Regions from separate parts of the Homo sapiens genome. Here all the other regions are linked to region 4. The links are contacts of gene promoters, found by promoter capture Hi-C in human tissues and cell types (Jung and others, 2019). All regions are on one chromosome and are shown on one strand. Each heading gives the region's core, a stretch centred on a gene start or on the middle of the fragment in contact. The rest is flanking DNA. Distances are from core to core; before and after follow the strand shown. Region 1 holds the start of ATPAF2 (ATP synthase mitochondrial F1 complex assembly factor 2). Region 2 holds the start of ALKBH5 (alkB homolog 5, RNA demethylase). Region 3 overlaps TOM1L2 (target of myb1 like 2 membrane trafficking protein). Region 4 holds the start of NT5M (5',3'-nucleotidase, mitochondrial).

Region 1 (2,737 bases), core at 68-2,567, 740 kb after region 4:
GTTCTAGATACCCAACACTCTCCCACCTTTTTGCTGAACTCCTACTCATCTATCATGGCTCAGCTTAAACAAACGCCCTTTCACCCAAGACCCATTCTAAACCCTGAACATCCCCAAGATGGGAGTAAGCGATTCTCTGTGTTCTCACAGTTTCTTTGTATGTCCCTTATCAGGATATTATAAACCACAATTTAATCAGAATATTATAACCTTTTGCAATGAACAGTGAACATCATTCAGGTGGGCCTTTTTCTTCTTTAATTGAGCTTCTCTACCAATACATACAGGTGGGTCTTAAAGACAACCGTGCCTCCTGCCTCCAGCACAATAAAACTAATTGAATGGTGGGAGGGTGTTACTGCTCTTCATTCACTGAAATGAGTCATTCTCACTCTTACCCTGACACCACTCACCATCAGCAATGAAAGAGCCACTACTTCTAAGCTTCATCAGAGTTGGAGGTGGAGGTGACTCCACAGTCAGAGGTGGAGGTGTCAATTTCTATTTAGGAGAGAAGGCTGCAGATGGCAGAGGTTGTGGTAGGAGGGAAAGTCAGGAAACCTGCAGCAGAAGTGCCCGGGATGGAGGAATGAAGGCCCAGGTTCTAGGTCCCTTCTGGGCAGGTCTTGTGTTGGGCAGTGGAGACACGGAAAACAGTCAGACAGACACCACAAACCTCTGAGAGAGTCTGCCTGTAACCCAGACGAAGTCCTGATTCAGAGCCCAAACTTCCCCTTTTGAAAACAAAGATGACACCTGCTTTCCTTATTAAAGGGAGGGCAGCCATAAGCTTTGAGAAAACCTGCACAGGCCAAATATCAATTACTGTATCGTGCGTGACTCGCTGTTCCCTCTCGGGTCGTCTGCCCTTGTCTGGGCTTCACTTTCTCATCTGTAAAAAGACCTGACTGGCCTGCATAACCTCATGAGCCTGAACCCTGCCTCAGTTACTTCGCTTTGCACAGCCGAAGCCCGAAGCCCACCTTACCCCAGCTCGGCCCCAACCCAAAAGAACATGTCATGGTCTTACCTGTCGGCGGGGCGTAAGCCCGGGCTGGAGACGGGATGGTTGGCCCCGGACTCATAGAAGCGCTGGGGCCACCCGCCGGCCGATTCAGGAGACGGCGTCCCCCGTCCCGCAGCCGGAGGCAGCTCCTCCACATCGCGCCCGAGGGTCTGGGAAGATGCGAGACGCGAAACCTGGAGCAGGAAACACAGAGCGATGGGATCCCCAAAGCCGCACGGTCGGGCTGTACGGAAACCTCTCAACGCCTCCTCAGAGCCCTCAACCTCCCTTGGACGCCGCCATCTTCCGCATGACACCTACGGCGCGCCGTCGCCGCCGCGCGCCTCCTGCGCACACCCCCAGTCAATCAGCATCACAAACGCACCTCGCCCCGCCCCCTCCACGCCGCGCCTCGGCGAGGAGACTACAAGTCCCAGCGGGCCGCTCGCGCACCGCGCCACGTGTTTTCTCCTCCCGCCAATGGGCGGAAGCGCCGCCTGAGCCTGCTCCCGCCCCCCAGGCTCGCCTGAGCCAATCGGAAGGGGCGGGGTGTGTGTGTGTCTGTGTGTGTTTGTGTGTTGTGTGTCTGTGAGTGTCTGTGTGTGTGTATGTGTGCGCGAGGGCAAGTCGGGAGGGGGACCCAGCTCAGGACTGGGAGGCCCTGCTCGCAGGTCCCTGGGTCCCGGTGGCGGCCGGAGCGCTTGCTCCGCAGGCAGCGGGCGGGTGGTCGCCCCTCCCGCCCCCACCCCGCGCGTGCGCGCCCCGGCCTCTCCCTCCCCGCCACCCTCCTCGGCTCCCGCGCGGCGGCGGCGGTTCCTCTCCCACTCCCCCCAGCCCTGGCTCCGGGGGACCCCGCGATGCCGGTCCGCACCGAGTGTCCCCCGCCGGCCGGTGCCTCCGCTGCCTCCGCGGCCTCACTCATCCCGCCGCCGCCCATCAACACCCAGCAGCCCGGCGTGGCCACCAGCCTGCTCTACAGCGGCTCCAAGTTCCGCGGCCACCAGAAGAGCAAGGGGAACTCGTACGACGTAGAGGTGGTGCTGCAGGTGAGCGCCGGGCCGGGCCGGGGCCCGAGGGCCTCCTCGCGGCGCTCACGGGCCGTGCCCGCTTCGGCTCCTCGACCCCGCAGCCGCGGAACAGGCCCTCGCCGCCGGGGCCTCCTGCACCCGGCGCTTCCCACCCGGGACCTTCCCAGCCTGTGTCTCACACTCTCCGAGCCCCAGCCCTGACCTGCCCCTTCGGACCCAGAGCCCGTCGTGACCGGCTCCTGGCGGACCCCGAACACTCCCAGACTTGAAGCCCGTGACCGGCCCGTCTGGGATCCGGAAGCCCCTCATGACTCGGAGAAGGCCTGGGTCCTTCCTCCCCATGACCTGTCGTCCCTAGATCAGGGACTGCCACCAGCCCTTTTCAGACCCTGAAGAACTCTCCATTGGTTTCACCAGACTTGGGACCCTCCCCATGTCTGGGCCCACGTCAGATTCTCTCAGACCTGAGACATGTCCTCCTGCCCCTTCCTCAGTTCCAGGAATCCGCAGACCTTGGGGTCTTCCTCCTCCTGAGATCTCCTTAGGAGGGCTTCATCAGACCCCCAGACGGGGGAGCACCTAACCCGCAACTGATTGGTCAGGCCCTGGCCTCACCTCAAGACCAGGCACTCACTCCCTGAGTGCTGCTCACAGTCTGTTGGGATGTTGCCTCCTGGGTCCCCTGTTCCACTCACTGCTTCTG
Region 2 (2,700 bases), core at 176-2,675, 880 kb after region 4:
GGCTCAGTGTACATGGAAAGAGAGGAGAGGAGGAGCCAAGGCCAGAAGAGTCTTGAAGAAAAGCTTTGAGTGCCAAATAAAGCAGGGGAACTTTATCCTGGGAGACATGGGAGATTTTCCAGCAGATCCCCCCCGACCCCCATTTGTTGGAGCCCTCCAGTGCATCCTGCACGGCTACGCCTTTTTGTTTTGTTTTGCAGCTCTGTCGCCCAGGCCGGAGTGCAGTGGCGCCAGCTCGGCTCTCTGCAGCCTCAATCCCCTGGGCTCAAGGGATCCTCCCACCTCAGCCTCCTGAGTAGCTAGGACCATAGGCGCGCGCCACCACGCCCAGTTCATTTTTAAAAATTTTATTGTAGAGATGGGGTTGCCATGTTGGCCAGGCTGGTCTCAAACTCCTGGGCTCAAGTGATCCGCCCGCCTTGGCCTCGCAAAGTGCTGGGATTACAGGCGTGAGGCCCCGCGCCCGGCAACGCCTTTGCTGACTGCTTCAAAACTTTTTTGAATTGACTGTAGTCATTATCTATAGCTTAGCCTTAGCCTTGCGCCCGTTCGTTTCCTGGAGTTTTCTTCCAGAGTCCCCGTAGGAGGTGCCCCCACGCCCATCTCCAGCACCAAGGAGGCTCGACGCCAACCCCAGCGCGCCCCCACGCTCGCCGTCACCGGGACGTGACTCGTGAAACGTCCGCTCCGGGCGGCGGCGGCAGCGGCGGCAGGCTGGCTTGTACCCCGACAACGCGCGTCTGGCTTCTGCCGGACGTTCCTATCTGGGTTCAGAACTGGGGCCGGGTGCTGCAGGTCCCGCAGTCTGAGAAGTTTTCGCGGGTTTCAGAAGTTTCCTTAGGCGTTCTAAGGGCTTTACTCAGGTGGAGTCTCCATTCAGGCACTTATTTAACCACCCATTTCTCCTTTAGGGGTCCTCGCTGCTCGCCCAGCCGCTAATTAAGTGACGGACACAGTAGCTAAGGAGACTGCCTGATTGACACGCATGATTACCAACCGACTTCCGGAAACTCCAGTCAGGGCCTGCCCGGCGCGTGGCCCACGGCCCAATTAAAGAAGTGGAAGCGCCAAAGGGGGAGGTAACGGAGCGGCCTACGTTGTGGCGGTTCCCTGGTGAATGCGCCCTGGGGTTGAGGCGTCTGCGGGCGTTCGGACGATGCCGTGACGCGGCACGGCGACACTGTTGGCAATATGAGCGCACCCCTGTAGAGGGAGCCCTTCGGTCCTGGAGGCGGCGCGGCGTGAAGACAGGTTGCTATTTGAGAGCGTTCCCTTGAAGCCCCTCAGAGAGTGGGGGAGGGGCGGCGGACGGCAAGCGGTTCCTGTCTGCGCTTGCGCCGGCGCCTCTGCCGACCCGGCCTGCACGCACGCGCATGCCCGTAGCGCGCGGAGCCGCGGTGGCCGGCAGCACTGCGCGTGCGCGGTGAGGAGCCCGCTAAGGAGCGGCGCTGGCGGACGTCGGGCTGGCTGCCCGTGACGTCGTGCGGAGAGCTTTAAAGTGCGGGCCGGGCCGGGCGTCCGAGGGTCTGGTCGGGAGTCGGGCCGCGTCTCCGCAGCAGCCCTCCGCGGCATGAGGCGCTGCCGGCGCCCCTGCCCCGCGGGACGTGGAGAAGGTGGAGGAGGAAGAAGCCCCGTTGTCGCCACCGTTGCATGACCCGCCGCTCCTGAGGCCCTACCCCACGCCCGGACCCTCGACGCCCCCCGCCGGGTCCCCCACTCACGCATGGGGGTTCGGCGCTAAGGACCCCCCTCCCTCCGGGGGCCCCGGGGCGCGTCCCCTTAGAGCCATGCCCGGCTGCCCCGCCCGCCCCGGAGGACCCTAGAGCAGCGTCGTGGGGGCCATGGCGGCCGCCAGCGGCTACACGGACCTGCGTGAGAAGCTCAAGTCCATGACGTCCCGGGACAACTATAAGGCGGGCAGCCGGGAGGCCGCCGCCGCTGCCGCAGCCGCCGTAGCCGCCGCAGCCGCAGCCGCCGCTGCCGCCGAACCTTACCCTGTGTCCGGGGCCAAGCGCAAGTATCAGGAGGACTCGGACCCCGAGCGCAGCGACTATGAGGAGCAGCAGCTGCAGAAGGAGGAGGAGGCGCGCAAGGTGAAGAGCGGCATCCGCCAGATGCGCCTCTTCAGCCAGGACGAGTGCGCCAAGATCGAGGCCCGCATTGACGAGGTGGTGTCCCGCGCTGAGAAGGGCCTGTACAACGAGCACACGGTGGACCGGGCCCCACTGCGCAACAAGTACTTCTTCGGCGAAGGCTACACTTACGGCGCCCAGCTGCAGAAGCGCGGGCCCGGCCAGGAGCGCCTCTACCCGCCGGGCGACGTGGACGAGATCCCCGAGTGGGTGCACCAGCTGGTGATCCAAAAGCTGGTGGAGCACCGCGTCATCCCCGAGGGCTTCGTCAACAGCGCCGTCATCAACGACTACCAGCCCGGCGGCTGCATCGTGTCTCACGTGGACCCCATCCACATCTTCGAGCGCCCCATCGTGTCCGTGTCCTTCTTTAGCGACTCTGCGCTGTGCTTCGGCTGCAAGTTCCAGTTCAAGCCTATTCGGGTGTCGGAACCAGTGCTTTCCCTGCCGGTGCGCAGGGGAAGCGTGACTGTGCTCAGGTAACCCACCCGGGTGGAGGGGGCGGCCCTGCGCCTGCTGCCTTAGCTACCCACCCTGGCCCAGAAAGCAGCAGCCCGTAGGAGTCTGC
Region 3 (2,700 bases), core at 33-2,532, 550 kb after region 4:
TTTTCTTGTAATTGTTTTGTTGCTGCTAAAGAACAAATCCCTTGAGGCCTGGGGTCATACTTTAATTTTCTTCTTTGGGGATAAATCTTGAGAGCCAACATGCTCAGAAAATAAACAATGACACTTAAGAAATTCCTCACCTCCTCAAAAATAACTTCCCAAAAGCTGGCTCATGGGAACCCTTTTCTTCCATGTCCTAGATTTTTCCAAATAAGTAGTATGTTTATGGAATGGCATCCTCCAGACCAAGCCCTAGAGGGCACGCTGAGGAGAGTGCACTGGGTGGGGTCCATCTGGGCCCTCACACTCACTGGTGGCAGGACCTGGGGTGAGTCGCTCCTCTCTGGACCCCACTTTCTTCACCGGAGAGCTCCTGAGTTTCTTCTATCCTAAGAAGCCTTAGAGATTTGGGTGGAGAGGCAGGAGCAGGGGACAGAGGCCTGAGCAATGCTTGGCCTCAATTTCCTCATCTGTGAAATAAGGCGATTGCTAGATTGTATTTGGCTTTCAATTCTTATGACTCAGAAACCTTAACTTTCAGGTTGGTGCTTCTGTTTTCTAATTCAGAAACCCAGGGATGTCAGAAATTATGGAAACTGACTCATTACAATATAGAAGCCACTTGGCCTCAGGGCGTGAACCATGGTGGAGCAGGGTGATGGTTAACAGTTAAGCTTATATAACGTAAGCTTAAATTGACTTTCTTGTGGCCAGACACAAAACCTTAGCTATCTAAACCTCTTGTCCTGGTAAATAAATGCCTTGAGTATTATAACAGGGCAAAGTTCCTTCTAATAATGTAGGTGCTATCAGACTCAGACTAAACATGTACACTGCTTGGAAAATATGAACCAAAGAAACTGTGGGAGGCCGAGGACGCGCTCCTTGTCAGGCTGATGGGAGGGAAGTGGGGCCCTGGTTGGAGCAGGGGGCACTGCGCTGAGTCTTAGGGGACTCTGTTTCTTCCCTGCAGCTTTGGGCAAGACACCAGGCCCTTAGGAGGCCTCGGTATCCTCATCTGTCAGACTAGGGGCTGGCCCAGCAGATTCCTAAGAAGGCTGTTGGCTCTGATGTGTCATAGTTTTATTTTTATTTTTATTTATTTATTTAGTTATTTATTTAATTAATTAATTTATTTAGAGACAGAGTCTTGCTCTGTTGCCCAGGCTGGTGTGCAGTGGTGCGATCTCAGCTCACTGCGACCTCTGCTTCCCAGGTTCAGATAATCCTTGTGCCTCAGCCTCCTGAGTAGCTGGGATTACAGGCGTGAGCCACCACACCTGCCTAATTTTTTTTTTTTTTGTATTTTTAGTAGAGACAGGGTTTTGCCATGTTGGCCAGGCTGATCTCAAACTCCTGGCCTCAAATGATCTGCCCAGCTTGGCCTCCCAAAGTGCTGGGATTACAGATGTGAGCCACTGCACCCAGCCTGACATGCCATAGTTTCAGCATTTTCTTGGGCAATGATCCAAGCTGAAGGCTGGTCTGAGGGATCTGAAGAAGCGTATGAGTTGGAAGAGAGGGACAGAAAGGAAGAAGACATGTGAAGAGAGAAAAGGAAGGAAGCTAGCAGAGGAATGCCCTCCAATAGAGACTGCTGCCTGAAGCTCAGCCCCTCTGAAGATAGGTAGGCCAGGCTGGCTTGGCTGAGGCAGTGGTTAGACCAGCCCTGCCCATTTTCAAAGTCCACAGACATCTTGGATGTCAGAAGCCACAGGTTTTGATCTGAGTGGCAGGTGAGCCATCCTGCTGTCAGCTGATTCTCACTTGGAACTGCAGGCAGGGGCAGCTCTGCCTCAGGGATCAGGAGGGAGGGTTGCCTGCCCAAGGGGGAGAGGCATGTCTGTCTGGTACTCCAGGGGTTAGGATTATCCTTCCAGAGTAAGAGCCTTGGGGGCCTCCAGGTCTGAGGAGGGAGTCCCGCCCTCCAAACCCAAGCCTGGGTTTTGGCAGCAGCATTCTTTACTAACCTACCTCTGTTCTTGTTTTGACTTAGATTCTCTCACATGAGGATATTTTCCTGGCTGCACCCTGCAAAAGGGAGACACCCCTAGCTGATCACCAGCCAAGAGAGGCAAAAAGACCTCACACTAGAGAGGCCAGGGAGGGAGAGCACAAGCCTAGCAGTCTCCCTGAGAGCCGCCCGGCCCTAGCCCATTGACAAGTCTCATTTCTCTTCAACCAGTAATAAGCCTGGTGGTGTCAGTTAACTTCTGTGTTGGCTATCCACACACCTGAGTCCCAGGAGCATAAGGGTTCCAACAGATGCTCCTCTGCAGCTTCCCACAGCCCCATGCCCACAAGGAAACCCACCTGTCCAGTTTTCAATGTAACAAGAACAATTTCTGTAGCTCAGGTGTACTATTTCCAGAGAAGCTGTGAATCCCTTCCTATGTCACTTCAAGCACCACCCCACTGGGACCAAGTCTAAAAGCCTTTGATCTCACTCAATAGTACAAAAAGTTTCCAAGTAAAGAATTTGTACTCAGGAGGCTTGAAAAGACTCAAGGTTTCTACACTATGGGAAATAAGGCAAAGCAATTAATATTTGTTGTAAAGAAAAAAAAAAAAACAAACTGCAGTCAGTCAGGCAAGACACCAGGTTAGCTGTTAGTTAGGTTTGTTTCTGGGAAGTTAGAGACTGGAGCTCTACGTGGGACCTGGCAGTGGCGAGGCAGTCTGTGTGGGCAGAGACAGGCA
Region 4 (2,866 bases), core at 1-2,500:
GTGGAGGTTGCAGTGAGCCGAGATCCTGCCACTGCACTCCAGCCTGGGCAACAAGAGCAAGACTCCCTATCAAGAAAAAAAAAAAAAAAAGGGAGAGAATGTGGTACATATATACCATAGAATACTTCACAGTCATAAAAAAAGAATAAGATCATGTCTTTTGCAGCCATATGGATGGAGCTGGAGACAATTATCCTAAGCAAACACAGGAACAGAAAATTAAATACCTCATGCTCTCACTTAAAAGCGGGAACTAAACATTAAGTAAACATGGACGTAATGATGGGGACAACAGACACGGTGACCTACTTGAGGGTGGAGAGTGGGAGGAGGGTGAGGATGGAAAAACTACCTATCAGGAACTACGCTTATTACCTGGGTAATAATAATCTGTACACTAAACCCCCAAGACAGTCAATTTATATAACAAATCTGCACATGTATCCCTGTACTTAAAAGTTGAAAAGAGGCCGGGCGCGGTGGCTCACGCCTGTAATCCCAGCACTTTGGGAGGCTGAGGTGGGAGGATCGTTTGAGCCCAACATAGGAAGACTCCTGTCTCAAAAAAAAAAAAAAAAAAAAAAAAATTACCAGGGTGTGGTGGCAGGCCCCTGTGGTCCCAGCTACTCAGGAGGCAGAAGCAGGACGATCCCTTGGGCCCAGAAACTCAAGGCTGCAGGGAACCGAGATCATGCCACTGCTTCCACCCTGGGTAACAGAGCAAGACCCCGTCTCCAAAAAAAAAAAAAAAAAAAAGCAATACAGGGGTACTTAATATTTATTCATATATTTACCTGAGAATCATCAGTTTTACTAAGGCTGTATGATGTTAGCAGATATTGGTTCTATCAGTCTCTCCGCAGACATTTGCTGTAAATAAAGCAGAGAGGCTTTCAGAGTGCACCCTGTTTTTGTTCCTCCATCCTGTTGTCTGGATCCCCTTCTAAAACGTAAGTTCCAGGATGGCAGGAACTTTGTCTATTTGGTTCACACTCGACACAGTTAGTGCTCAAAAATGTCTAACGACACAGGCCTGCTTCTCGGTTTGCACTGCTCCTCCATGGTAGTCTGTGCAGTGGGAGAAGGCAGCCCGGGCCCAGGGTCCACGGAGAAGACGCAAATCGACAGCGCGGGAGCGCGGACCTTCTGGAGGCGCGCGGCGCTTACCGCTGTCCGTCCTCGAAGCCCCGCCCCGGGGCTCCGCCTCCGCCGGCGCGTGTTCCTTTAGGGACCGCGCGCGCCGCGGCCTCGCTCTGGGGCCGGTACTTGCGCGCCCGCACCCCGCGCTCCCCGCCCCGCTCCCCGTCCCGCGCTCCACGCGCGCCCCAGCGTTGGGGGCTTCTCCTCCGCGGCGGGAATGTCTGGCCGGCTCCGGCAGCACGGCGCGGCCCAGGTCCCCGCGCCCACGACGGGCCAGCGCGCTGGGCCATGATCCGGCTGGGCGGCTGGTGTGCGCGGCGGCTCTGCAGCGCGGCGGTTCCCGCGGGGCGGCGCGGGGCGGCGGGCGGGCTGGGCCTGGCGGGAGGCCGCGCCCTACGGGTGCTGGTGGACATGGACGGCGTGCTGGCTGACTTCGAGGGCGGATTCCTCAGGAAGTTCCGCGCGCGCTTTCCCGACCAGCCCTTCATCGCGCTGGAGGACCGGCGCGGCTTCTGGGTGTCGGAGCAGTACGGCCGCCTGCGGCCAGGGCTGAGCGTGAGCGTCCCCGCCCCGCCCCGCGCCGGGCCTCCTTCTCGCCCCGAGCCCCAGACACCGCCCCTGCGCCGGTGACCTTGGACGGTCAGCGCCCCAGCCTCGGGGTGGCCCTCTGATAGAATAGGGTCTGGGGGGGACTAGGGGCCACAGCGCACCGGGAAGATGCGGCCCCGCGCTCAGGATCTGTTGGCTGCCATCCAAGGTTTCTGAAAATGCGGGAGAGTACAAAGTGTTAATATACCTAACTCTGCATTTAAAGCTGACTTCAAAATTTGTGGCATATTTGGCCTCAAGTCGTTTGTTAAATTTTTAGAAAAATAAACGTTATAAGTTGTCCTCTTTCACCCCGACCGCAGTCACATTCCCACTTCTTTGTCCCCAGGACTTTGATGGGTGTCTTTACCCATCTTTTTTACTGTTGTCCATGAAAGCATAGCTTCCAGGGGTATTTGAGGCCCAGAGAGGTTGTGTGACTTTCTGGGGGTCACACAGTGAGTCAGTGGTCCAGGTGAGGTGGGATCCACCTCATGTCTTATCCCCTTGCAGAGCTGGCCTTGCTGAACACCTGAGCTCAACCCCTACCATCCGACTCCCGAGGTGTTCTGTCCAGGATGGATAGAGGGGAAAGATCCAAGGAGGGACGTTTACACACAGATCTTGGTTGGTAAATTTGAAGTATTTTGCAAAAGGAACAGGGGATTTTGGTATGCACAAAATTAAAGAGGCTGAGTGTTTTTTGGCATCCCTTGATTGGCCACCTAGGGTTGCTGCTGGAGGGTTTGATAAAGAGGAGAAGGAAGTTACAAGAGCCCGTTTTTTAGCCACAAGTTCACTGCATCCTCTCTTTTGTTGGGTAGATATTATTATCTCTGTTTTCCAGATGAGGAAACTTGCCCCAAGTCACATGCTGCTCAGGGGCTCAGTCAGGACTCAAACCCAAGTCTGTCTGCCTCCCAAGCACAGTTAGTGCTCCCCACTCCACAGTCCTGTTCTCTGTACTACTGTCTCTAACAAGTGACATTTCTTCTGACATCAGAAAGATGCCTCATCAGTAATGTGGTTTGTTGAGGGACAGGTGTTAAAAAAGGAAACCAAGTACCGTTTGTCTCCATCAACACCAGGCACTTCAGAAGGTGACTTTCACAGAGCCCAGTGTGCTGAGCTCTTCTAC

The links. The method cuts DNA at HindIII sites, captures the fragments that hold promoters and counts their contacts. A contact is called where the count stands out against the background at its distance.
Region 1: a contact is called between the fragment with the promoter of ATPAF2 here and the fragment with the promoter of NT5M in region 4, in 2 of the 25 tissues and cell types used here (heart right ventricle and mesenchymal stem cells).
Region 2: the fragment with the promoter of ALKBH5 here is called in contact with the fragment with the promoter of NT5M in region 4 in 1 of the 25 tissues and cell types used here (spleen).
Region 3: a fragment that was not itself captured here is called in contact with the fragment with the promoter of NT5M in region 4 in 1 of the 25 tissues and cell types used here (spleen).

The regions. Positions count from the first base shown.
Region 1 is chr17:18,037,851-18,040,587 of GRCh38, forward strand. It overlaps ATPAF2 (ATP synthase mitochondrial F1 complex assembly factor 2), which reads right to left and starts at 1,318. Exons shown (of 8, transcript NM_145691.4): 1 at 1,031-1,318. The coding sequence starts at 1,163. It overlaps GID4 (GID complex subunit 4 homolog), which reads left to right and starts at 1,558. Exons shown (of 6, transcript NM_024052.5): 1 at 1,558-2,052. The coding sequence starts at 1,615. RefSeq lists enhancers at 977-1,046, 1,057-1,106, 1,247-1,356, 2,507-2,566 and silencers at 1,467-1,556, 1,567-2,156. The HindIII fragment of the contact is 10,779 bases long and covers 618-2,737 here.
Region 2 is chr17:18,182,403-18,185,102 of GRCh38, forward strand. It overlaps ALKBH5 (alkB homolog 5, RNA demethylase), which reads left to right and starts at 1,426. Exons shown (of 4, transcript NM_017758.4): 1 at 1,426-2,611. The coding sequence starts at 1,842. RefSeq lists enhancers at 814-1,013, 1,074-1,313, 1,421-2,258 and silencers at 1,524-1,823, 1,904-1,993, 2,152-2,303. The HindIII fragment of the contact is 6,004 bases long and covers 1-2,700 here.
Region 3 is chr17:17,853,404-17,856,103 of GRCh38, forward strand. All of the region lies in intron 12 of TOM1L2 (target of myb1 like 2 membrane trafficking protein), which reads right to left. Among named protein-coding and RNA genes, the nearest start is that of SREBF1, 18 kb to the left of the region's middle. The HindIII fragment of the contact is 7,112 bases long and covers 1-2,700 here.
Region 4 is chr17:17,302,123-17,304,988 of GRCh38, forward strand. It overlaps NT5M (5',3'-nucleotidase, mitochondrial), which reads left to right and starts at 1,251. Exons shown (of 5, transcript NM_020201.4): 1 at 1,251-1,695. The coding sequence starts at 1,429. RefSeq lists silencers at 1,181-1,350, 1,401-1,500, 1,631-1,820. The HindIII fragment of the contact is 23,347 bases long and covers 1-2,866 here.